Linked DNA regions of Homo sapiens: regions 1, 2 and 4 are each linked to region 3. Evidence: promoter capture Hi-C in 16 types of primary human blood cells and fetal thymus (Javierre and others, 2016). All regions are on one chromosome and are shown on one strand. Each heading gives the region's core, a stretch centred on a gene start or on the middle of the fragment in contact. The rest is flanking DNA. Distances are from core to core; before and after follow the strand shown.

The links. Contacts are between HindIII fragments. The CHiCAGO score rates a contact against its expected background, and 5 or more counts as called.
Region 1: a fragment that was not itself captured here is called in contact with the fragment with the promoter of MTARC2 in region 3 in 1 of 17 cell types (M2 macrophages); the score reaches 5.2 in M2 macrophages.
Region 2: a fragment that was not itself captured here is called in contact with the fragment with the promoter of MTARC2 in region 3 in 1 of 17 cell types (erythroblasts); the score reaches 5.0 in erythroblasts.
Region 4: a fragment that was not itself captured here is called in contact with the fragment with the promoter of MTARC2 in region 3 in 3 of 17 cell types (M2 macrophages, M1 macrophages and megakaryocytes); the score reaches 8.4 in M2 macrophages.

The regions. Positions count from the first base shown.
Region 1 is chr1:220,291,004-220,298,305 of GRCh38, reverse strand. No RefSeq gene overlaps it. Among named protein-coding and RNA genes, the nearest start is that of RAB3GAP2, 22 kb to the right of the region's middle. The HindIII fragment of the contact is 6,693 bases long and covers 1,110-7,302 here.
Region 2 is chr1:220,331,830-220,338,203 of GRCh38, reverse strand. No RefSeq gene overlaps it. Among named protein-coding and RNA genes, the nearest start is that of RAB3GAP2, 63 kb to the right of the region's middle. RefSeq lists enhancers at 1,204-1,711, 1,114-2,313. The HindIII fragment of the contact is 1,479 bases long and covers 1,333-2,811 here.
Region 3 is chr1:220,742,462-220,749,571 of GRCh38, reverse strand. It overlaps MTARC2 (mitochondrial amidoxime reducing component 2), which reads right to left and starts at 1,250. Exons shown (of 8, transcript NM_017898.5): 1 at 769-1,250. The coding sequence starts at 1,040. It overlaps LOC124904516 (a long non-coding RNA gene), which reads left to right and starts at 757. Exons shown (of 2, transcript XR_007066884.1): 1 at 757-1,753; 2 at 2,809-5,252. The HindIII fragment of the contact is 9,208 bases long and covers 1-4,172 here.
Region 4 is chr1:220,275,318-220,281,711 of GRCh38, reverse strand. No RefSeq gene overlaps it. Among named protein-coding and RNA genes, the nearest start is that of RAB3GAP2, 6.1 kb to the right of the region's middle. The HindIII fragment of the contact is 3,550 bases long and covers 3,055-6,394 here.

The DNA.
Region 1 (7,302 bases), core at 3,207-5,706, 450 kb after region 3:
CATTTGAGCTGTTCTTTGATAATAATGTAATTTTAGAGCCAGAAGGTATCTTAGGATCATGTTGTCCAAGTATCACTTTTTTTGTAACCTGATAAACTAAGGCCCAGAGAAGTCAAATGTCTCAGCTGGGGGTCTTCCAATAAGAGAAGAATGGGGTTGGGACTGGACCCCTCTCTCCCGAGGCTCAGTCTGGTGCTCTTTCTGTCACCCCATGCTGCCTTCCAGAGTCAGTGTAGACATGCCACACTAGCTCACATCACTCAAAGGTACAGGTTGCAAAACAGCTGGATATTTGAGGAATAAGTCTTGTGTTGTAGACAGCAAAGAACTAACTAAGCCACCTGACCTGTGCTCTTGGCCTCAGTAGCAACTTGTCCTTCCTGGTTGAGCTGACCAAGACAGACAATAGTGAGGAAATACAAAAAGCTGATCACTAGTCACCCATGAGGTTTATACTGAAAGACTGACTTCAGGCTTATCCATCCTTAGTTTAGGGTCAGAGGAAAGGCGATATTACCCTACACCCACAGTGACTACAGACAAACTGTTAACCTAAAACAGGGGGTATTTTTTGGTATGTTTGGCCTCTAGAATTTCTCATCAAAATTCTTCATTGTGAATGATAAAAATCTAATTCCAACTATCTTTAAACAAAAGAAAGGAATTGATAGGCCCATGTAGCCAGGCATAATAAAGTAGGGTAACTTGAAGAACCTGAAAAAAGATGTTGGCTCCAGGGCTGAAGAATTGGGATCATGATTCAATTCTACATCCAGCTTTTCTCTCTGAGTCTCTGCTTAACTCTCTGATCTGCTCCTATAGCAGGTCTTCTTTGTTTGGTTACAAAGATAGTCACAGTCTTCTAACTTCATATCCTTATGGTACCATGACCCCGAGAAAACACCACTGCTTCTCTTGTTTTTAAACTCAGAAATCTCAGGGAAGGACTTTAATAAAGTCAGCTTGAGTTTTTACCTTCCCCTGAACCATTACTAAGTGGGAAGGAATGGAGAGCTGTGATTAGCCAGACCTGAAACTGGCCCCTGCCTCTGCAAAGGGAGTGAGGAGGAGGGAAGGCAGTTACCAGAATAAAGGGTGATGAGAAAGCTTGCTTGGATGACAAAAAGACAATAGCTAGCAACGTCCATTACATCTTGTTTTCCACAAGTGGTGGAATTGAGCATAATTTCCATTACCTCTTGCTATTCCTCCCTTTAGCCCACACACATATGTGTGGCTATGGACCATTCATAAATCAATGTGGATAATTGCATTGGTGGTCCAAGGAATTCTTGGTGAGTTAATCAGACTTGTCAAAATTGATCCATAGCTGGCTGGGTGTGGTGGCTCATGCCTGTAATCCCAGCACTTTAGGAGGTCGAGGCTGGCGGATCACTTGAGGTCAGGAGTTGGAGACCAGCCTGGCCAACATGGTGAAACCCTGTCTTTACTAAAAATACAAAAATTAGCCGGGCATGGTGGCAGATCCTTGTAATCACAGTTACTTGTGAGGCTGAGGCATGAGAATCACCTGAACCTGGGAAGCAGAGGCTGCAGTGAGCTGAGATCATGCCACTGCACTCCAGCCTGGGCAATAGAGCAAGACTCAGTCTCAAAAAAAAAAAAAATTTGATCCATATCCGTAGACCAGACCCTGCAAGAGTCCTCCAAGGACTGCAGGGCAGGAGGCAGGCAGTATGCTGGAGGAGAAAGCACAAGATCTGGGGTCTAGGCCTAGTTTTGTCACTGACCAAGTCTGTAGCCTTAGGGACTTGTTTAGAAAATGGGAGAAGGTGGCCCAGGAAGTCATTAAGATCCATCTAACCCTAATATCCTACAGGTGCAATTCAGGCGCAGCAGCAGAGCAGGTCACTGCCCCCTCTAGTGGTTCATTTAAAGCAGGGAAGGAGCTCAGGTAGTCTCAATTTCTCATCAAAAGGAGGAATAACTTCTCCACAGAGCCTGACAGGCACATTCCCAAGGAACGAAGTTAAAAGGCAAAGTTCTGAGGGCAGAAGGACTCCACTGCCTTATCAGTCCAAGCCCTGGAGAAGTGCTAAAAATAGGAAACTGCTCTCCAAAATGGAAATGTGTAGCCACCCTGACATCTAGTCCCCAAGACATCATGGGTTCAACCAGTAGGTGGTAGGAATTGGAAAGTGACAGTAGGGAAAAAAAAAAAACAACAACAAAACAAAACAAAAAAACACCAGTTTGGAAAGGATGTAAATCACTGTGTACAGTAGAGGATGAGAAAAAGAGGGAGACTAGCCTCAAAAATGCTATTGATCAAAACTCATTTATTCTGGAAATGTTTACTGAGCATCTATTGTGTCCTAGGCATTGATTATAAATAATAGCACTGAGAATAAGAGGATGTTACAGACTTCCTGGGGGTCTTATTCCAGTACAGAACACAAACATTACATAAATAAAAGTATAGTAAGTGCTATAAAGTGGAAACCTAAACCTAAGGTGTTCTCTGAACTCATAATAGGGGGCCCAGACCTTAGCTCCGGTATCAGAGAAGGTATCCCTGAGGAACTGATCTCTAAGCTGAATTATGTGAGTACTAGGGGGTACCAGGTCAGTTGTGTGGGGTAGACAGTAAAGACAACAAACTGTATGCACATTGTTTGTGAGAAATAATTTAAATTTTTTGAAAACATTATTTAGGCTTGGCGCAGTGGCTCACACCTGTAATCCCCCCACTTTGGGAGGCCGAGGTGGGCAGATCACTTGAGGTCAGGAGTTCGAGATCAGCCAGGCCAACATGGTGACACCCTGACTCTACTAAAAATACAAAAATTAGTTAGGTTTGGTGGCGGGTGCCTGTAGTCCCAGATGCTCAGGAGGCTGAGGCAGGGAGAACTGCTTAAACCCAGGAGGCGGAGGTTGCAGTGAGCCGAGATAGTGCCACTGCACTCCAGCCTAGGCAACAGAGTGAGACTCCGTCTCAAAAAAAAATAAAAAAAAAAATAAATAAATAATAAATGATTATTACATGCTATGCTCTGGGGATGCAAAGATGAATAAAATGCAAAGTTCTTGCCCTCACAGATAGCAATCTATGAATCACAGAGGAGAGGGTTTGGAGCCAATAATAGCTGTATTCCCAGAAGTCTGTGGTTGCAAATTGAGGATGGTTATGATTTTACTAGAAATGTTGGAGGATATAAAAGGTGAACCTTTTCTTAATAAACACCACACTTCAGGGACTTAGACCTTTCTGGACATGCATTTTGACAGAGTGCACGCCTGCAACAGCTGAGGAAGGGAGGCAGCCTGTGTTCTCAAGTGCCGCGTCCCAGCATCTGCATGTCATACTTGATACATGATGCATAAATTAATCACATTGCTTCCCTCAGACTCTTCAGCCTCATCCACTGAATTCATTCAGAATGTGGAATGGATATTGAGACAAGGGGCAGGGAGAAAGCGATGGCCAAGTAATGCCTGGCACAGAGTAGGTATTAAAAAGCGTTTGCCAAAGGCATGGTTGAATGAATGAGTACACTAATAGCTCAAACTGGTGTTGAACAACTAGATGATGAGAAAGTATAATTGTCCCTCAGAGATCCAAATGAGATTCTGAAAGGATTTTAAGAATCAAAAGAAGTCTTTTATTTGAGGCAAAACTAACTTCATGCTTTTTGTTGGCCATTCTCACTGCTCAGCATCTGAGGCTTGAAACCTTCCTGTCTGTAAGCAATAACTCAGACACTGGTAAGTGCGTTCTTCTGTTATTGTAAAGATGAAGAAATCCAGCCCCAGCTCAGCAATGCCTGGGCTGAGGACCACTTAGCAAGGTGCTGAGATAGAATAAACATTAAAATTCCTCTTCCCTTCACACTTAGACTTTATTTCATGGAGTCAGCACGTATATCAAAGACTCAGAAGAGAATATGTTGGAAATTAAATCATTCAAAACATACGGGAGGTCTCATCATTTAAAGGATGGCCATTGATGATCCCTTTTTCACAATTAACTTCTTCTAACTGATGCTCTGTGTGAACTTTCACCCTGAGTTTCTGAAAATGTGGCTGAGCTTTAAGGCTGAAATTTGTGGTGAAAAACAAACTTCAGTTTATTATCTAAAAAAGACTTAAGAAATTTTCACCTCATATCAGTAAGGACTTTTTGTTATAAATAATCAAAAACAACTCCAACTGATTTAAAGAGAATGGAATTCATTAAAATGATATGTGTGTCATAGAATCACAAGTTAAGGTTGAAAAACCAGACCAGGGCAATGAATCAGGAGTGAAGCCTCAAATCACACCCTAGAACCGGCCCCCTGCAGCCTGCACACCTTCACGCTGCAGCTTGCACCACTGACAATGCATTGATTAAGATTAACTTCAGCAGCAAGTAACAGAGACCCCAAATTACCGACCTTAAATAAGACAGATGTATACTTCTCCTTCTCATATGAAAGTCTAGAGGTCCAGGACTGATCGGTAAATTCTGTTGCTTGAAGGCCCCAGAGATGCAGGCACCTTCTATTTTCTTGCTCCCCTATGCTGGGCCTCCACTACTGTAGTTTTCTCATTGTTTATGGTACTAATCCAGCTTCAGCCATCCTGATACACATTCAAGCCAAAAGAAAAGAGGAACGGATGAAACTCCAGCTGTCCTTTAAGGAAGATCTCAGAAGAGGTCAAGCAACACTTCTAGTTACAGCTCATTAGCCAGAATTAGCCAAACCTGGCCCCCAAGGACACGGGATAATATAGTCTTTATCCTGAATGGCATGTGCCCAGTTAAGAAGAGGTTTCATTACTGTGGATGAAGGAAAGAATAGACAAGCAGCAACCTCTGCCACACATAGCAAGCATAGACACAAAGCACTACCATTACCTCAGCTGTCCCTGCTGGTGCCCAAGAACTCAGGTTTTCTATAATGCTTGGCACTGCAAGGATCTCCGGTATAGGTGTATGTGATTGGCAGGGCAAAGGTCATATGCCTACAGCCCAGGGAAAGGCAGTTTGAGAAATGAAGTGTCTGGCCTAATCAGCATTTAGAGTGGGGAACAGACTCCACATGCCACAATATTCATAAGATATGAAAATGCCCAAACATAGAGGGGGTGGAAGTACCGAGTTGCCTAAAAGAATGAACAACTCCTTTTCTTTTTTGCCACCAAGCCTATTTGAATTCTAGATAGACCCTTAAATAATTATAATTCTAGACAATACTGATTGTTCTGTTCCTCATGTGGGATTCCGTTGTGAAACTATACAAAAAATATTACTTTTGGCAATGGTTTCCTAGGTATGACACCAAAATCATAGGCAACGTAAGCAAAAATAGACAAATAATATTCTCCTAAACTTAAAAACTTTGTGCATCAAAGGACACAATCAACAGTGAAAAGAGAACCTGCAGAATGAGAAAACATATTTGCAAATCATATATCCAACAAGAGGTTAATATTCAGAATCTATAAAGGGCTCCTACAACTCAACAACCACAAAAAAATCAACAGCCTAATTAAAAAATGGGCAATGGACTTGAGTAGTCATTTTTCCAGAGAAGATATACAAATTGACAGAAAAGTACATGAAAAGATGCTGAGCATCACTAATTATTAGGGAAATGCAAATCAAAATTCATACCCATTAGGATAGCTACTATTAAACAAACAAACAAAAAAAAAAAAACAGAAAATAGCAAGGGTTGGCAAGGATGTGGGAAAAGTGGGACCCTGTAGACTGTTGGTGGGAATGTGAAATGATGCAGCCACTATGGAAAACAATATGGTGGTTTCTCAAAGAATTAAAAATAGAATTACCCAGCCGGGTACAGTGGCTCATGCCTATAATCCCAGCACTTTGGGAGGCCGAGGCGGGCGGATCGCGAGGTCAGGAGATCGAGACCATCCTGGCTAACACGGTGAAACCCTGTCTCTATTAAAAATACAAAAAATTAGCCAGGCCTGGTGGCAGGTGCCTGTAGTCCCAGCTACTCGGGAGGCTGAGACAGGAGAATGGCGTGAACCCGGGAGTCAGAGCTTGCAGTGAGCGGAGATTGTGCCACTGCACTCCAGCCTGGGCAACAGAGCAAGACTCCATCTTTAAAAAAAAAAAAATAGAATTACCCAAGATTCAGCAATTCTACTTCTGGGCATATACCCAAAAGAATTGAAAGCAGGTACTTGAACAGATATTTGCACACTAATGCTCATAGCAGCATTATTCACAATAGCCAAAAGGTAGAAGTAATACAAATGTCCCTATATAATGAAATATTATTCAGCCTTAAAAAGGAAAGAAGTTCTGACACATGCAACAACATGGATGAACCTCAAGGACATTATGCTAAGAGAAATAAGCCAGTCACAAAAAAATGAATACTGTATGATTCCACTTACATTAGGTGCTTAGAATAGTGAAATTCATGGAGACACAAAGTAGAATGGTGGTTGGCTGCCAGAGGCTGTAGGTAAAGAGAAATGGAGAGTTGTAAAATGGTTAATGGTTCAGCTGCAATGGAAAGCAGTTTCAGTTTTGCAAGATGAAAAGAGATCTGGATATTGGTTGCACAATAATGTGAATGTACTTAACACTACTGAACTGTACATTTAAAAATTGTTAAGATGGTATATTTTATGTTATGAGTATTTTATTATAATTTTAAAAAATACTAGTACTACTTAGTACTATTTTCCTGGTGTACACAGCAGTGGGCAAGATTTTCAACTCCCTTGGCACATATCTTGCACAGAATGTGAAACCACTTAGTACAGAGACAAATGATAAAAACTGTGGCACACAGCTGAAATCATAGAAGTCTTTGCTCTTGAATGAGAAAAAGGGGCATTTTTTTCTTTAATTCAATGGAATTTATCTTTTATGGATATAGGGAATAAGATTTTTCCACTTAATTAATTATAGTTTTAGTGTTCTATGAAGGGTTAATTCACCTTTCTCTTTTATAGAAAAAAAAGTTCGGGAATTCAAATATAAGCGTATGAGTGGGCCAGACCCACAATTCTCAGAAACATGCAACTGTAGGGAATAAAAGCAAGTGCAACTTACCAATCCCATTACTACCTGAAAGTACTTAGCAGTAACTATCATTTGCCTCATGTTTTACAGTCTACAGAAAGCTGTCACCGACTATATGTTATTTCATTTGAACTTCTTAATAACCCTAAGAAGTAATTAAACAGGTATCATTTTTCCTATTTACAGGTGAAAACTATGGATGCCGGAGGATAAATTACATATCCAGAGTTAGAGAATAACAGAGAGGGTGAATACTAAAACCAGAAGGCAAAATCTATTTCCTTCAATCA
Region 2 (6,374 bases), core at 823-3,322, 410 kb after region 3:
TAAGTAATAAAGTGAAAAAACTAGAGTTATTTTGTGATTTTTTTTTTCAGCATACAAATAGAGCTAAAAGGAGAAGTTCAAACAGAGCACATTTCATTCCATATAAGTTTATTAAGAGTAACTAAGTGCCAGAGTTGAGTGTATAACATTGTAATGACATCAATAAGATAGGACTCTCAAGTAGAAAATAGTCTAACAAGAATCAGACAAATGAACAAAACACACATTATCTCCTTATCAGAGAGTGCTAAAAAATAAAAATTAAAAAATACACACATTAACACGCAAACTAACAAATGTCGCCAAGGTGGCAGTAACCCTGCTTGAGAGTCACTACGCCCTTTCCACTTCTCTTCCAACATTCCCACCTGGAAAAGAGGTGAGCAGGTGCAGGCTCTGCAACACTCTAGTCTCTGCTTGGCGTATTCCAGCTGTGGAATCCTCCTCCCCTATTTTTGCCTTCCCTGTAAATCCTGCTGTTTCCAGGCCATCATGGCACTTTGCTGCTGCTTTCCCTACTGTTGTGAAAGGCCTGTGAACTGGAAGAAGGCTCACTGAATAATTTAAAGGCAGCTTCTCACTTCCAGAAGCAATGCTCTAGTTACCTAAGATAGCATCAGGCCACCCAGCATTCCGTCTGTGCCTGAGGCAGGTATACACTGGTGAGGCATTGTAGCTAAAACAGCCAGTGAGTCAGCAATGGCAACAACCACCCAAAGAATCTCATTAATTGTGGACTTCACTCAGAGATGGGGGATGATGCTGCATGTGGAAGAGAAGCTGGTTAGATTAATTGGTCAGCAGCAGGACAGCAGGCAAAAGTGTGCTATGTCAACACATTCATAAAGAGATACATGTTTGTGTTTGTTTTTCAACCAAGGACGCAAGTTTTATCTACTTCCTCTTTACTGCCACAAGCCTGTCAGGCTCTGTCGCCCAGGCTGGAGTGCAGTGGCATGATCTCAGCTCACTGCAATCTCCAACTCCCTGGTTCAAGCGATTTTCCTGCCTCAGCTTCCAGAGTAGCTGGGACTACAGGCGCCCGCCATCACGCCTGGCTAATTTTTGTATATTTAGTAGAGATGGAGTTTCACCATGTTGGCCAGGATGGTCTCGATCTCCTGACCTCATGATCCACCCACCTCAGCCTCCCAAAGTGTTGGGATTACAGGCGTGAGCCACCGGGCCCAGCCAGGCATTTGAATAAACACCTTCGTTAGGGAATTCAGAGGAACACAAATCAAGAATACATTTGAGTCCTAAACATAAACAGAAGAACACCTTCTGTGAGGGAAACAAAATGCAGGAAGATCCAGAACTCCCCAGCAAGCTTTGTTAATTCAAGTCCCCAACAACATTTGTTTCTAAACATTCCTTAAATTCCGCATGTACTCATAAGATTTCTAGGTGTGACTACTGAAATGTGCTGATTTAGTTAGGGCTAAATATTGAACAGTTGCTAACGTTGGAGGAAGAATGGAAACAAATCCAAGAAACAAGCTCCTCTTTATATCCACCCTGTGATGGTTGCTCTTGTTAGTTTAATTAAGCTCCTGGATTAATGCAGGTAAGCCCTTCCTGATTCATTCCTTATACATATAGGGAACCCAGCATGAGCCTAAGCTGGGTTCACTCTAGGACTCAGGCATGTCAAGGCTTGTTGCAAAAACTCATGGGTCAGCAACAGAGACTTACTTATGAGAAAGGTAGAAGAACCTCCCGGAGAAGAACCTTTCTTAGGAAAGAGAGCTTCTAAGGCAAACAAGTTTGATACAAGGACAGTGGTCCAGAGTAGGAGGGGTAAAAGGGCAAAAGAAGTGAGATGGGAGCCCCCTTGGAGGTTGAAGAAGCACCAAACTCCTTTTGTTTTTGAGACTCCTGAAATATTACATTAAGAAATACCAAAACTGGGTTATATAAAGAGGCATTTCGCAAATTTACATTTAACATATTAATGTCTTTAACATTAACACAAAACACATTGCAAATAATGGTATTATTCACAAGATCATGAATGGATTTAGAAGTATTAGTAATTGATAATTTAGTATAGTGATGTGGTCCAATATAGGGACACAAGAAAAGGGCTGTGTGGTGAGTGCTGTCTTCTTTCACTTCAGGTGGCATCTCTCTGAGATGGGATGAATAACCTCATTTGGAGTCATCTCTGTCATTGGCCTGTGTCTGTCCCTCGGAGTATCCTCCTGCTCAGCCTTCACTGACCCAGCCTGAAATCTATGCCTAGGGGCTGCAGGAAAATAGCAAGTAGAAACCACAAGAGCTCTTAAGCTCTGAGAGATGCTGAGCATGCAAACCTTCTGGTGCCAACAACTTCTTCAGCAACTTTGTTGACTTTGGCAACCACAGGAGTCAGCTCAGACATTATCGCCTTGACCAGGCATCAGTAGCCTTGGCACAGGTGTTGCTGGGCAATCACAGCAGTGGAAGTGCCTTTGGCCAACACCAGCAGCGGCTTCATCTTCCAGGCATATTGGCAACAGGAACGTGGCTTTCAGTATTGGTTATAAGAATGATGGCTGATGAAAACCAAGGCTGGCAGGAAAACTGCAATAGCCATGGGGTAACCAGGAGGATCTTGTTCCATCAATTAATTCTTCCCTGCCCTCTCTCTTGGGGGCTAGCCTTCCCCCAGATAGTACACTTTCTGTTTGTCTGTGGCTGATCTCATGGGGACAGACCATGTAAGGAATCACTGCCTTGATTGAGTGGGTGAGCCTAAATAGTTCTGGGGGGTTAGTATTCAGAAGACCCCTTGGCCATAGATATAAGGCTCATTTTCCCATATAAGCTTTATCAGTAATTTTTTAAATGTTACAACTTTGACTCTATATGCTGTTCTTTTGGCTTATTTCTAGATTGATTCATAACTCAGGAATGAGAAGTGCTGTTTTATTAAGACTCTCAAATACTAAAGGAATCATCGTTATCATCATAATCATCATCAACATCATCAATCCTCATTACTGCATTCCCAGGCCCCGGTATATTATTTGGCTTTAGCAGACATCTAAATATATATGTAGCCAGGCGTGGTGGCTCATGCTTTTAATCCCAGCACTTTGGGAGGCCAAGGCAGGTCGATCACCTGAGGCCTAGAGTTTGAGACCAGCCTGGCCAACATGGTAAAACCCTGTCTCTATTTTAAAAAATACAAAAAATTAGCCAGGCATGGTGACAGGTGCCTGTAATCCCAGCTACTCGGGATGCTGAGGCAGGAGAATCACTTGAGGGTGAGGTTGGGAGGTGGAGGTTGTGGCAAGCCAAGATTGTGCCACTGCACTCAGCGAAATTCCATCTCAAAAAAATAAATAGTCCAGGCGCAGTGGCTCACACCTGTAATCCCAGCACTTTGGGAGGCCGAGGCAGGTGGAATACTTGAGGTAAAGAGTTCGAGACCAGCCTGGCCAAACAAAACCCCATCTCTACTAAAAATACAAAAATTAGCCAGACGTGGTGGTGTGCACCTGTAAGCCCAACTACTCAGGAGGCTGAGGCAGGAGAATCACTTGAACACAGGAGGTGGAGGTTGCAGTGAGCCGAGACCATGCCATTGCACTCCACCCTGGGTAACAAGAGTGAAACTCTGCCTCAAAAGAAAAGTGTGTGTGTGTGTGTGTGTGTGTGTGAAATAATGAATATATGAGAAAATATACAATACTCACTCCAGTACAGTATAAAAAATATCTGGTTAGAATTTGAGGGATGTGTAATAAGAAAAAGGCATATCCAGAGAAGAACTGTTTGATTATTGTTACAATGACTCAGTTTTTACCTGAAGGCTGGTATATCCCAGGAAACATAGCTTATTGATTGATTGATTCATACTTTCACAAAACATATTTTGAGCATTCAACATGCACTAGACATATAGAACTAGAATGCCTACCCTTAAGCAGTTAATAATCTAGTTGGGTAAGCAGATCTGAGTGTGAGTAACTGAAATTCAGTATGATGAAAGATTTATTGATGATGTGATGTAAGCCAGTTAGTATCATAGCATAGAGGAAGTAACAATTTTGCTTGTCAAGAGAGTTAAGAAAGTTCCAGAAAGCTAAAGACAAAAAATTTCAACTAAAAGTCTATTGATTTACAGTATGGAAAAAAAAGAAAGGCTTGGGACATTGAGCAAATCACCAGTTAACTGGAAGTTTTTCTGGAAGCCAGCAAATGGAATGGTTCAAATCAACCAATGATCCATTCATTCTATAAGTATTAATTTAGGGCCTACTTTGTGCTAAGAACTGCCCAAGGCCTGGGGTTGATGCAAGTATTACAAAAAAGGACCAAGACACCTGAAGCTAGATGTGAGAGTGGAACATAGACCTTTCCCAGCTGTCATCTCAGGACTAGCTTTAACTCCGAGGCTCTACACTTGGAAGATGTTTCCTTTCTACAGGGATTCCACAGGGAGGGGGAAAAACAAGGAATTTGGGCTTCAAACCAAACTTGAACCTGATGATCCCTGACACTTTAATGAAGATAATCAAATCCAGAAAAATCTCAAATCAAAGTTGTTTTTCTTTAAAAAGACAGGGTCTACCTCGGTCACCCAGGCTGGAGTGCAGCATGGCACAATCATAGCTTACTGCAGTCTCGAACTCCTGAGTTCAAGCAATCCTCCCACCTTACCCTCCCAAGTAGCTAGGACTACGGAGCATGTCACTATGCTTGGCTAATGTTTTAATTTTTTGTAGAGAAGGGATCTATGTTGCCCATGCTGGTCTCAAACTTTCGGCCTCAAGCAATACTCCCACCTCAGCCTAGATGAAACTTTTGAGCATATTCTGTATTATCAGCAGTAGATTATAAAATTACCTTTGGACAAGGATTCATTTGCCCTGGAATCCTCAATTTTCATAGAAATAACACCTCAATTTACAAGGTACACACTGGCACAGATATTTATGCCACATGATACTTTCTCCCTGGCTATAGTAAATAAGATAAAGAGTAGCCATGTAAGATGAACCAATTTCTCTATAGAATTAAAAATGGGGCTAAGAGACATTTGCAAATTAATGATGGCTGCCTGAATTGAAGCAATATAAACTTGGATACTGTGCAGTCTTCTTTCCACCTTGTGCACGGACAAGCAGAGGGCAATTTGTGAGAGAGGAAGCTGATGCACAGTGAGAAAGAACATGAATGAAACTGGCTGCTAATGGCTTAAGTCCCTGTGAAACAGCCTCAGCTCCTGCTCTTGGGTCCTGTTGCCCTCTAATAAATCCTCCATACATCTGCTCTTCTGCTTAAGTTATTTAGCAGAGTCTTCTTATTTGTCATCAAAAGAGCCTTAGACTTAAAAAAAAAAAATGAACAGAGGCCCTCTTGTGGGATGTACGGTTTGTAACTCTCCAGCTGCAAAAGGTTCAGTTGGTTTGCATGGTCCGAAACTTCTATTTCATTGTGGAGAGGGTGGCTAAAGATGAACTTACACACATCATCCTACAAATTATTGCTTGTTCTTGGAAATGCAATTGCTCAAGGAGGTTGGCTGCTGAGACTTCAAGATGGTGGCAAGGATATGCAGGCATGGGTGTTACTTCAAACAGATAATAAAACTGAAAATAAACTGGACTGAGTTTAGCAACGCTTGCCCTAGACTGGATGGATTATGCCTCTTATGTGGTGTTATTCTAACTCAGTTGAGAAAACAACCGATGTCCTGTTATTACGCGCTAAAGGGACTGTGCTTTTGAGTATAGAGGACTTTCCATGGGTTGAAGGTTGCACTTTTTCCTAAAGGAAATAGAAATTTCCAGAACCTATCATATTGAATGGACAGATCCAGATCAGAAAGAAAAGACACAGAAGGCAGGGAACTTTTTACCTTTTGGGGGATATGGGGACATGAGGCCTGGGGCTCAGCAGAAGGGGGGACATACTGAAGGTCTTCCTCCTATGGTAGGAAGAAGAAAGCTGACCTCTACAACTGTGAGGCAGGCCAGAAACTATGCAGGCCTCAGTAGTCTACCCTGAGAACAGTCAGATCTAATATCAGTTTTACATTTCTCTAGATTGTAATTTCCTCTTGCAGAATTGAAGCTTTCAGTAAAGTTTTATTACAATCTGATCTTGGCTTAGCTTCAAGTAAAAGAAGGTGTTATATGGAATGGTAAAGGGGGCGCAGGTTTCCTCATCCTGAGGTCAGCTTTATGGTGGCAGCACCGATTGAAGGGAGGTAGAATGTTCTGGAACTGCATCAAGTGACCTGCAGAGAAGTGAATGATGGTCCATGGTAGAGTGGAGTTTGCCAGTCTGGAATCAGGCAAAGCAGAGTCATAGATGTGGCACGACTGACTTGGGAACCATCATGAGACAACTTTCCCCCACCCACATCTTGCTGAGCATGC
Region 3 (7,110 bases), core at 1-2,500:
GTAATCTCAGCTACTTGGGAGGCTGAGGCAGGAGAATTGCTTGAACTTGGGAGATGGAGGTTGCAGTGAGCTGAGATAGTGCCACTGCACTCCAGCCTGAGCTACGAAGTGAGATTCTGTCTCAAAAAAAAAAAAAAAAAAAAAGAAGAAGGCATCTTAATCCTAAGTATGAAATGTCTATGTGTCAGGCCCAAAAGTCCCAAAGTTCCAGGCTGTGAACAACTCTGCCTATGGGAGAAGGGGGGACACTATTCCCTTAATGGCAAGTATCACCTCTGCCCCAGAGTCCCCATGCCACTTGCTCATCCTTCATCAAAGTGTATCAGGCCTCCAGGGCACCCCCAGGATTGGAGAAATGTGAGGAACAAGGCCCAGCAAGGCCTAAGCCAATGTCCTTGAACAACACTTGGTTTCTTTCTTGCTGCTTTCTAGTGCCAATAGCTTTATTTTTCTACTTTGGTATACTAGGATAGAATCACAAACTTTAGAGCTAAGGAGACTTGGAGATACAGGTCAGACCCCCTCCTGTTACAGAGGAGGAATCTCTCGTCTAGGGAAGGGCAAGGGATTGCCCCTACCTACTTTACCAAAAATAAACCTGGCATGAACTTGGCCTTCCCAGATAAACGACCAACGGCCCAACAGTCAGCCCAGAAACTCAGGTGGCAAACCTCTATAGTCCTTCCCAGATAGATCGGGCCCCACCTGCCCCCCCGCTCCTCATCCCAGGCAGGCTCCGCGCTGCCCCGCGCCCGCGCTGTGCTGTACCTGTCCCGCAGGTTGCCGCTGCGCAGCCCCATGGCCGTGCACTCAGCCTCGCTCACCGGCACCCCTTTGCAGGATTTCACCGGGTAGATCCAGAGCTTCGCCACGGTGCCCACCTGCTGCAGCCGCCGGCGCCGCCTGGGCCATGCGCGGCGCCAGGCGACAGTCCCCAGGGCCACGGCGGCCAGTCCTAGCGCGGCGACCCCGAGCCACCTGGGCCAGGGCCGGGCTGGGAGGCCGAGGCGGGCCAGCGCGGAGGAGCTGGAAGCGCCCATGGCAGAGCGAGGGCGGGCGCGGACCGGCGCACAGACCCGGCAGCGACCGGAGACCGGGAGGACGAGGAGGCCCTTAAGGATCCGGGCAGGCGAGAGGAGTCAAAGTTGACCCAACTACGGACCCTCTCACACTTTCACCGCCGAGACGGCAGAGCAGTTCCGCGGAGAGCGGGAATGCCTTAATGCGGTGACCAAGCCTGCGCGGTAATGGAGGAAGACAGGCAGACAGCGGCGGGGGTACCCTGGGCGCCGTGGGAGCGACGCCGCCCAAAGCAAGCGAGCTAATGGGGCGGCCTCTGGGGTGGTCAGTGTCTCCTCCCTCTTCCCCGCCCCTACAACACGACAGTTACCCATGCAACATGACCTTCAGCGCCAGCACTCTGCCACCCCCTTCTCTGCTAATACTGCACGCTTAGTCGCTCGACAAGATCACCGCAGAACGTGAAGGCGGGTTGCCCAACGGAGGATTTACAAACATTTGGGAACGACTTTTTCTGGCAGGTCGCTGTGAGAACTGCAGGACTTTCTGCACACAAAGACACAGTCTAAACCTCTGCACTCAAAGACGAGGAACTCTAGCGTGGCTTATAGGAGCATGACTCAAGGTCCCCCACCCTCCGCTGCCGCCTAACCTCGACCCCAGTAAAATGTCTTCCCGAGAAAGCTCAAGGCAGCCAGGAGAATTCCCCGTTTATTCTAGCCAACACCCGATGGTAAAGCCCCTGACCTCCCTTTTTTAGGATATTTTCTTAAAAGGGCTTACAACTGTGAATCCTTTCTCTGTTGCTTTGAGATGTATATGTATCGCCTACACCTCAGAAGTGTCTTTCTCAAGGACCTGAAAGCCATTGCTCTGAAATGCAGTCATGGGGAGGATAGGCCTCTGTCCCCCAGTCTCTGTGGGAGGATAGAATCCCAGCTTCATAACGGCCAGCTCCAGGCACAGCTGCCCGTCATTAATACTGACCGCCCCTTCATGATTTTTCACTTGATCCCCTGCTAGCTTCCCGGCCCTATTCTCTCCTTCACCCTTTAAAACGCCCATTCTGCTATGCACAAATGAGAATGATCAGCTTTTTCTCCTACTGTAAGTAGTTACTGAGTAAAATCTGTTTTCATGGTTTAACTAATGTCTGGCTTTGTTGATCTTTAACACCTCCATTCAAGCAAGCTATTGGGTTAACAGTGGATTTTCTCAGACAAATTAAGGTTTGAAGTCTTTCAAGTTTTTTGTTGTTGTTCTGTTTTTCAAAAGTTTGTCCCTTAAACTGTGGCACAGTTCTAGGAAAGTTTAAGGAGGCCAACCAGTGGGCCACCCCCCAAATCTGGGCTGGCCACCTCCAGAGAAAGGGGCCCGTTCTGGAGTGTGGGAAGAGACTCCGGGAAGGATGGAGAACCAGAGGAGCCAGGTTCCCTTTGGCTGTTCCTTGTGAAAAGTGAAAGACAAAACAGGGCCTGAATCTCTCCCCACCCAGGAAAAAACCTCAGGCCAGCAGAATTAGTCCCTCAATCCCCATACATTTACATCATGCTTGGCAGCTGCGACTTATGGATTTGTTTTTTAAGCATGGTGTGGTGAATGTGATGTGTGTACACTTGTAGCTGACCCCCTTTGCCTCTCCCAACTCCTGAGGAGGGTCAGAGTCCTCCCTGCCCACAAGCCTGCTGTCAGAGTGAGGGGCTTACAAAGCCATCGCCTCGCTATACGTGAGCTCCCAGACAGGGCAAATGTCTTATTGATTAATCATCTCTTTCTTTCACCACATAGATATTGATCATTCACCAGGCTTCGTCCTAGATTGGCACTGGGGATTTAAAGTTTAGAAGAAGCTGCCCTTCCATCCAGTTCACTGACTCCCCAGAAGACTGACACCTCCCCTGCAAGTCTAGAGGATAATGTCAGAGGAGAAGCAAGGTCAAGATGCAGAGGATGCAGAGGCAAAAGAGCAGCTGAATCTCAGGACAGTGCTGTTTTCAGAGGGCGGAGCTTTGGAGCTGAGACTTGAACATGAGGAGGGGCTTGGAGATGGGTAAAGGAGAGGATTCTGGGCAAAAGGAGCAGCACGTGCAATAGCCTGAAAAAATGGAAGGAACAAGAGAGTGTGGCATGTTTGGGCAACCACCAGCAATCCAGCTGTATTAGGATGTACCTGTGCATGCAGCAGGTGGCGGGAGTTGAGGCAGGACAGGTGGGCAGAGGTCAGATCAACAGGCATCTTATCTCTACTTAATGTGGAGACACCTCAGAATTCTGAACAACAGTCTGGCATGATTAGACTTGGGTGCTAGGAAGGCCATTCTGGCTGCTCTGAGAAAGAGTAACACCAAAGATGGTTAGATGAGTTGCAAATGCCCTAGTTCAGGCTGATGTAATTCCAAATCAAGGAAAAATAACAGTGGGGCTGGAGATAGACATGTGGTTAGGAGAGATGGTCAGGGGACAGAATTAACAAGAGATAGTGATGACAGAACACAGAGCCAGAGGGAGAGGAAGAGCCCACGGGGCCTCCTGGCTCTGTGGCATAAAAGTCTGGGGTGGGATGGGGGTACCATTCTCAGAGATTAAGAATTCAAGAGAAGCTGGGCACAGTGGCTCACACCTGTAATCCCAGCACTTTGGGAGGCCGAGGTGGGCGGATCAGGAGGTCAGGATATCGAGACCATCCTGGCTCACATAGTGAAACCCCGTCTCTACTAAAAATACAAAAAATTAGCCAGGCATGGTGGTGGGCATCTGTAGTCCCAGCTACTTGGGAGGCTGAGGCAGGAGAATGGTGTGAACCCAGGAGGCGGAGCTTTCAGTGAGCCGAGATCGCGCCACTGCACTCCAGCCTGGGCGACAGAGAGAGACTCCGTCTCAAAAAAAAAAAAAAGAGAATTCAAGAGAAGAAGATAGTCTGGGAAAAAAGATGATGAGCCTATTGTGAACAGCGAGTGAGAGGTATCTTTGAGACATCAAAGAAGAAATAGTTACCTAGATAGATGGGTAACTTGACCTTTCCATGCTTCCACCTCCTCATGTGCAAAATGATGGGGATAGACATCAAGTGAGGAACTTTGCCATGGTGAGTGCTGCCAAGTCTTTGCTGTCTTCACCAGCCATTATCTATCATAGCCTGCCCTGTTTAAGCTTCACCAATGCTGGGGTTGGGGGTGCCTTCAGGGGAGCAGGGAAATTCCTTATCAGTAATGTGTACATTTGCAGCCCAGCATCTTCATTTGTAGAATTAGTGAGGGGTGATGAGAGGCTGTATTAGTCCATTCTCACACTGCTATAATGAAATACCTGAAGCTGGGTCATTTATCAAGAAAAAATGTTTAATTGGCTCATAGTTCTGCAGTCTGTACAGGAAGAACGGCGGCTTCTGCTTCTGGGAGACCTCAGGGAGCTTTTACTCATGGTGGAAGACAAAGCAGCAGTGGATGTCTTACATGATAGGAGCAGGACCCAGAGAGAGGGGGGAGGTTCCACATGCTTTTAAACAGCCAGATCTCATGAGAACTCACTCTCAGGATGATAGCACCAAGGGGAATGGTATTAAACCATGAGAAACCAGCCCCATGATCCAATCACCTCCCAGCAGGCCTTAACTCCAACACTGAGGGTTGCAATTGAACATGAGATTTGGTTGGGGACACAGATCCAAACCATATCAAAGGTTGAGGATTCATGAGTCTAATTGGCTGTTTGCATATCTTTTTTCCCTTCTGATTTGAATCAACTTATCTATTTTTTTGTTAATTTATAAGATCCTTTTATAAATTAAGAAAATTACCCTTTTATCATGCCTTCCCAAGTCATAACTTTTTCCCCTAGTTTGTCATATTTTGGCAACTTCTGCTTAGGAAAAATCTTTCTAGTGAATAAGACATCATTGTCTGCCTAGAGGCACTGACATAGATAAAGAAAACTCTGTCAATTAAAATATCAACCAAGAAACCAGAGAAAAAAAGAAGCCTAAAACCCAAATATTACCTTGCTTAGCCAGGTCCTCTTCAGGAAGGTGAGTACCCAGCAGCCAATGGAAGTATTCATCAGGGCCATGTAGCAGTTTGTCTTTCCTGGGGAGATGAGCACATCAGATTATCAGGCAGTGAGGATAGTCAACCTTCAACCCATATAACAAATCTCATGACGCAGGCTAGGCTAAAATATTGTAACAACCTCAACATCTCAATGCTCTAACAAAATAAAAGTTTATTTCTCACTTACATCCCAGTTTGATGCAGGCCAAACATTAATCAAAGGTCCCCTTAGGCCAGGCCCAGTGGCACACACCTGTAATCCTAGTGCTTTGGGCGACTGAGGCAGGAGGATCACTTGAGCCCAAGAGTTCAAGACCAGCCTGGGCAACATAATGAGACCCTGTTTCTACAAAAAATTTAAAACAACAGAAAAAGAGAGAATGAGGCAGGCATGGTGGTGCATGCTTGTAATACTAGCTACTTTGGACACTGAGGCAGAAGAGCCGCTTAAACTCAGGAGTTTGAATGGATATTAAGCATATATATATAGTGGAAGAAGAACCATGGCTAGGAAGTCAAAATGCCCTAGTGACTATGAAAATCCAGCCACATGACCAGGGCTGAAAGCACCAGATTAGAAACTCAAGCTTGATAGTCAGCACCTTCAGCTTTGAAAGGAAGATGGCATTGGATCTCTCACCTACTTTCCCTTGAACACATAAAACCAAGTGGCAGGGACAGAGCAAGATGTCTGATTAGCAGCCTCTATAGATCATCCTCCATGCAGAGACACCAATTTAACAACTATCTATACTACAAAGTACCTTTATAAGAACCAAAAATCAGGTGAGCAATCAAAGTACCTGGTTTTAACTTCGTATCACTGAAAGGGGCACTGAAGAGGGTAGGAAAGATAGTCTTGAATTGCCAGTACCACCCTCCCCAGTCTCCTGGCAGTGGCCAAGAGAGAGTCTGTGCTCTTGGGGGAGGAAGAGCACAGCGATTGTGGAACTTTGCATTGGAACTCAGTGCTTTCCTATCACAGCAGTAAGCAATATGGGCAGAACTCAGCTGACACCCATGGAAGGAGCACTTAGACCAGCCCCAACCAGAGGGGAATCACCCATCCCAGCAGTCACAACTTAAGTTTCAGCAAGCCTTGCTTCCACAGGCTAACGGGCTCTGGGGTACTAAATAAACTTGAAAGGCAGTATAAGCCACAAGGACTGCAACTTCTAAGCAAGTCCTGGTGCTGTGCTGGGCTCACAGCCAGTGGACTCGGGGGCCATGCAACCTAGTGAGACAGTAGCCAGCACATCTAAGGGATTTCTTGACCCACGCTTCTAACCCCAGGCAGCACAGCTCACAGCTCTGAAAGAGTCTTCTTACTTGAGTAGAAAAGGAGAGTACTTTGTCTTGCAACTTGGATACCAGCTCAGTCACAGGAAAATAGGACACCAGGCAGAGGTGTGAAGCCCCCATTCCAGGCCCTAGGTCCTAGATGACATTTCCAAACATACTCTAGGGCAGAAGGGAACCTGCTGCCTTGAAGGGAAGGATTCAGTCCTGGCAGAATTCATCACCTACTGACTAAAGAGCCCTAGAGCCATGAATAATCAGCAGCAGTACCCAGGTAGTATATGCTGTGGATATACTACACAGCATATACTAGTTTGTAAACCTAGATTACAACACCCAAGTCCCTGTGAATACCTCGAAAGCTTTCCCAAGAAGGAAGGGTACAAACAAGCCCAGACTGTGAAGACTACAATAAATACCTAACTCTTCAATGCCCAGATGCTGACAAACATCCACAAGCATCAAGACCATCCAGGAAAATATGACGTCACCAAAAGAACTAAATAAGGCACTAGGGACCAAGTCTCAACTTGGGTGAGACTCTGAAACATGCTGGCTTCAGGTGTGACCCAGCACATTCCCAGCAGTGGTGGCTACAAGGAGAGACTCCTTCAAGCAAAGGGAAGAGTAAACAGGATTTTGCCTTGCAGCTTAGGTACCAGTGTGACCACCGTGGAGTAGAGCACCAGGTGGGCTCTTGGGGTCCTTGGTTCTAAGACCGGGCTGTTGGATGGCATTTCTGGAC
Region 4 (6,394 bases), core at 3,580-6,079, 470 kb after region 3:
TCTCATGTTAACAGTCTTTTTTTAGCTCCAGACAGGCTTAACAGTATTTAATTCTTAAATACACTGTGTCTTCTCACTTCTGGAGTTTTGAGCTATTTCCTCTGTATCTAAGAATGCTTGGCCTCCTTGCTTCCATTCTACGCTCTATCCCATTTATTTCTGGCTTTGGTCTACTCTTACCTCACATGGTACTTCCTACAGGAAGCCCTCACTGATCTCCAAAGTGAGCTGACCTTCTTATCTGTTCCTCTGTACTGTTCCCAGCATCGCATTTTCAAAAATGAAGTATAAGTGCCTGTTTATCTGTCTGTCATTGGAGTGTATTATCTATTAGTACACATATGTGTCTCTTTTGTACTGAGTATGAGTCATGTGTATGTTTAGCTCCTGGTACACAGTATATATTTTCAAAATGTGTTGAATGAATGAATGTCACAAGGGTAAACATCACAATTCCTCCCCTTGAGGATATCACCATCTAGTGGGGGAGACAGTAATGCAGATAAACCATAATACAAGAAGTCAAGGTGTTAAGTTTCAGAATAGACACATACATTAAAAAGCTATGGGTTGGGGGGTGGGACGTTCGCCTGTAGTCCTAGCTACTCAGGAGGCTGAGGTAGGAGGATGACTTGAGTCCAGGAGTTCAAGGCTACAATAATGCAGTGAGCCACTATCATGCCACTGCACTCCAGCCTGGGCAACAGAGCGAGACCTTGTCTCTATAAGGAAAAAAGAAAAAGCTATGGGGGTCCAAAGTGGCTAATTTTGCCTGGTAGAGTCAGGCTTTTCACAAAGGAGGTGATATTCGAACAGCGTTTAGAAGGATTTCAAAGTTTGCTCGGTGGAAAAGAGGACAGCAGATCCTCCGTAATTAGCCACGTTAGAATGTTCCAGCATGCCTTTGTGTAGGTCTATAGTCTTGAGTGGTTCAAATCTTCCAAGTGCCTTTCAGTGCAAGAAAGATAGAAAAGAATAGAATATGACCACAAATGAGGGATCCAAGTAACTAGAACAGTGGAAAGGATTGAATTTGAAAAAAAAGATTTTAAAATGCAAGGATTATATATAAGTCAAATTAGTGGCTACTAGCAGGACAATTAACACTGACCGCATCTGCTGGAAAGAAATGGCATCAAGAAGAATAAAACACCCAGTCACCTAATGCCAGGCAATGTAAGGAGGGGAAATTGGAGAGCTTAAGAGAGGGAGACCCTGAGCAAAGCACTCAAGGGAAACTTCCCCTGCTATGGCATCTAGTAGTCTGTGAAGGTTTCACCAAGGGGGAACAGAAAGTCAACCTTCAACACAAATCTAGAGTCCAGTGTAAATGATCAAGTGCATCAGGGGGAGCTGGGCTGGGAACACATCTTGACTCCGGACCTACAAACCCTTGTCCCTACCCTGCAGCTCCTTAGACTGCAAGCAAGACGTGAAAAGTGGTATCAGTGAAGAAAATGAACCCAAGGAAACATTTCTCATATTTAAGCAAACTAAGAAATGTTGCTTAGTCCTTACATTCTACAGGAAATGAAATTTGAGAAAATTTAAAATCACTCAGGCCACCTCTCTAGACTCAGCCCCAACCGTAGTGTCACACTTCACATTTTAGAAACCGCTGCTTCTGTTTCTTTGTACACACAAGTTACTGCTGCCCCCCAAGCCTTTTGTCATGATGTTTCTTCTGCTAGGGTATTTTTTTCGTTTCTCCCTTACGCCCTTGTCAGCCAGCTAAAATCTATTCGGCTTTCAAGACTCAGCTCAGATATTACCTCTTAAAAGTCTTTTCTGAATCCCAAGGCCATGGTTTTTGTTCCTGCTCTGTTCTCTGGTAATTATTCCTGCTTGTGTATTGGTAACCCCTACCTTCACCAGTACTGGGTCTTACTTATATTGATGTTCTTAGGGCCTCCAGCCATTCATAGCACCTAATGGGTACCCAGAGAATAGTTCTTAAATGAGTGAATAAATTAAAGAAGAAACAAAAGTGTTATGGGGAGATTTACTAGGTAATATGATTAGAATTATGCTTCAGGAAGACAAATCTGGCAGCAATGTGTAGGATGGTTGAGGTGGGAAGCCCAGACGCAAAGGCAGGAAGACCGAAGAAGCTATCGAAACAGCTCAATGAGGAGGTGGAAATGAGGATATCAGGAGAGGATCAATCCAAGAGATATTTTGGAAGTTAAATCAATAGAACTTGGTGGCTGACTAGTGAACAAGCAGAGGAAAAGAATATTTATCCTTTCTGTTCATAGCTTATCCACCAAATGTGATAACCATTAACAGAAAGAAAAGAGTCTGTAACAAGGTACTTTGAGGAAGGGACTGAAGGAATAGAGAAAGATAACAAGGAGATAGTAACATATTCAGAAAATAAAAAGATCAAAGAGGAAGAAAGGGATCAGGAGGTTGCAGCTTCACTGAAGCTAAGGTTTGGGAAAACTGTGAAGAAAGTGTAGTCCAGAGTAAGGAAACCACAGGGAAGGTGCTGGACGGAGCTATTTTATTCACAAACCACAAGGCAATGGCTTCTCATATTTGTGGTCTTAGTTTATATACAACTCCAACCAGCAGTTTCCCCTTCACCTAACCTTCCCTCGATTTTCCATTATGAAATTGTTGATTGGAACTTATCACTCGGCTGCTAAACAACAAGGGGGGCATTCTTTTATTTCAAAGAATCTTTTAAGAGTCTATTTCAGTTGTGCTAAAAATAAGAAAACAAGAAATACTTGGTCACCTGGGGCATATTTTTATGTCCAAATGAAGTCAAAAATATTTAAACAATTTAAAATATCCAGGTAATTGGTCTAATCTCATCTGAATTATGCTAGAGAAAAAGACAATCAGAGAAATAAAAATGCTTTTATTTAAACAAGATACATAGAATAGAGCAAATTTCCTTGATCAAAAGTTTCTCTTGTTACTAAGGTCATATTATATCAGGATTAGGTTCACCTACAATAACAGAAAACTCAAAATAGCAGTGACTAGAACACACACAGATTTCTTTTGTCACCTGAAAGAAGTCCAGATGTGGCAGTCCAAGCTTGGCGTGGCAGCTCCACAAAGCAGAGGAGACTCAGGCTCCTGTCTTCATGCTCCACCACAGTTTAGGTCAATTCATTGTCTAAAAAGGATGCTGGGGCTACAACCATGGTAAATTTTAGGTAGGAAACAGGAAAGGGGAAGGAGAAGCCAAAAGACTTTTTCTTAGCTGTCTCTCTTGTAAGTAAACTTCTGGAAACCCCTCCCAATGATTCCAACAATTCGTGCTCTATTTCATTGGCCTGAACATAGTGTATGGATACGTTGAGTCAAGAGGGGTTGGAAAATGTGGTTTGTCTTCAAATCTGGGCACATAAGTGTCCCAATAATATATGGGTTCTCCTGCTAAAGCAAAAGGGGAAATGGATAATGAGCAACTAGTAATCTCTTCCACAAATATCAAATCTCATTGACATTTGGTGGCTCACTTAACCTGACAAGTCCTAAACACATTAAAATTAAGAAGATGGAGACTTAAAAGCACTATGGCACTTATATTTGTTAGCTAACTGTGTTAATATCTTCTTTCCTTGGAGGCTGAGACAGGAGAATGGCGTGAACCCGGGAGGCGGAGCTTGCAGTGAGCTGAGATAATGCCACTGCACTCCAGCCTGGGCAACAGAGCGAGACTCTGTCTCAAAAATAAATAAATAAATACATAAATACATAAATAAAGTAGGTTTTGGCCCAATAAAGTTATAAATATTGGGAAATGCTGAAAATATAAATATTTTTTCTTGGATTCAAAAAAGCAATAAAACACAATGCTTAGTGAAGCTAGTTCTTCTTTTCCTAACTGGTCAATGCCAGCAAAAAGAAAAGACTTCTTTCCATCTCTATTTTAGTTGTAAAGAAAAAGATTACCATTGCTTCTCTGGCTATCAGAAAAATAATCAACTTCTGAAGAAAGGTTACAAATTTTCTGCAAAAGAAACAGAGTTTGGCTGCTCTATACACTGGACAATCACTTGTTACTACCTATTCACCAAATGGAATCATCTCTTCTTGGCTTTTCCTTTCTTAAATTCTTTATTGAATTCAATACAATAGGTTTACCCCTTTGTGAAAATGTCTTCTTCCTCACTGGGCTTTTGTAGCATGGTCCTACCATGTACAGTTTTCTTCTTTGACTATGTCTTTTTTATCTCCTTTACTAGAGCTTCTTTTTCCATCCACCTCTAAAAAAATAGACAGTTGGTCAGGCATGGTGGCTCATGCCTGTAATGCCAACACTTTGGGAGGCCAAAGAGGGTAGATTCCTTGAGCTTAGCAGTTCAAGACCAGCCTGGGCAATATAGTGAGATGCTGTCTCTTCAAAAAACACAAAAATTAACCAGGCATGGTGGCATGTGCCTATAGTCCCAGCTATTCAGGAGGCTGAGGCGGGAGGATCGCTTGAGCCTGGAAGGCAAAGGTTGCAGTGAGCCAAGATTATGCCACTGCACCCCAGCCCAGGTGACAGAGCAAGACTCTGTACCAAAAAAAAAAAAAAAAAAAAAAGATAGTCCTCCCACCTTGTTTTCCTCATCCAATCCTGCTCTCACTGCTCTCACCCCATCTAGAATCCACTGGCACTTTCATCCCCTCCCTTCAATATAATTTCTGTGTGGAAGACTTCCATAGGTAGGTTCTAGCTCTGGCCTCTCCAATCCCAATTTGGAACTTCAGTTTATAAAAATAACTTAAAAAAAAAAAAACCTAGCTCTTCCACGGGCAGTTCAAATTTAACAAATCCAACACTGAATTTATCCATTTATCTTTTTTTTTTTTTTTTGGAGACAGAGTCTCACTTGCTCTGTCACCCAGACTGGAGAGCTGTGGCACAAACATAGCTCTCTGTAACCTCAAACCTGGGCTCAAGCAGGCTTCCTGACTCAGCCTCTCAAGTAGCTAGGATTATGGGCATGCACCACCAGGCCCAGACAATTTAATTTTAATTTTAATTTTGTGTGGAAATGGGGTCTCTCTATGTTGCCCAGACTGATCTCGAACTCTTGGCCTCATGCATTCCTCCCACCTCTTCCTTCCAAAGCACAGGGATTACAGGCATGAACCACTGTGCCCAGCCTCATCCTATTCTTGTTTGTCCCAAAGCCATTCCTCCTTTTACATTCTCTATCTTGGTTGCTGACATGACATTGCCACCTTTCCAATTCTTTGGACTGAAGACTTGAACATCACCTTGGGTCATATTTTCCCTTCCCACACCTATATCTAACTGTATACCAAAATTCTATTGATTCAGCCACCAGAGAGGCACTGCCTTTCCAATGTTATTACTTCTTGTTTAGAATATTGCTGTGACATCTAGAGGGGTCTATCTGCCTTCAGTCATCCCACATACTTCTACATCTTCTTCAAAATATCTTCAATTGGTTATACCTTGCACACAGAAAAAGACCAGACCATACTATGGTAACTGCCCAAGGGGTTCACCTTGCCCGCTACCTAGACAGAGCCAATTCATCAAGTCAGGGGAATTGCCAGAGAAAGAGTAATTCACGCAGAGCTGGTTGTGAGGGAGACCGGAGTTTTATTATTACTTAAATCAGTCTCCCTGAGCATTCGGGGAGCAGAATTTTTAAGGATAACTTGGTGGGTGGGGGAAAGCCAATGAGCCAGGAGTGCTGATTGGTCAGGGATGAAATCATAGGGAGTCGAAGCTGCCTTCTTGTGCTGGGTCAGTTCCTGGGTGGGGGCTACAAGGTCAGATGAGCCAGTTTATTGATTTGGGTGGTGCCAGCTGATCCATCAAGTGCAGGGTCTACAAAATAGTTCAAGCATTGATCTTAGGAGCAGTTTAGGGAGGGTCACACTCTCCAGCTGCATGACTCCTAAACCATAATTTTTAATCTTGTGGCTAATGTTAGTCCTACGAAGGCAATCTAGTCCCCGGGTAAGAAGGAGGTCTGCTTTGGGAAAAGGCTGTTACCGTCTTTGTTTAAACTGTAAACTAAGTTTCTCTCAAAGTTAGTTCAACTTACGCCCAAGAATGAACAAGGACAGCTTGGAGGTTAGAAGCAAGATGGAGTCGGTTAAGTTACATCTCTTTCACTATCTCAGTCATAATTTTGCAAAGGCGGTTTCACTATTTGGATTTTGAGGTTCTCTATAATCAAGAACCAATTTGTTTAATGCCTTTCCTACCTCTTCCACACTACTTCTTTTCCAAGGGACACCCCTAGGGATCTAAATTAATCTCTCCCTTATTTCTCCCACTGCCCTTTATCCAAAAGCCATCCATGGTACTCATCACACTCTGCTCTTAGAGCATTTGTGTTTGTCTGCTTTTAAGTAGTGAATCTCTGGATCACTTGTCCTTATTGCCTTACTGTGCTTACTA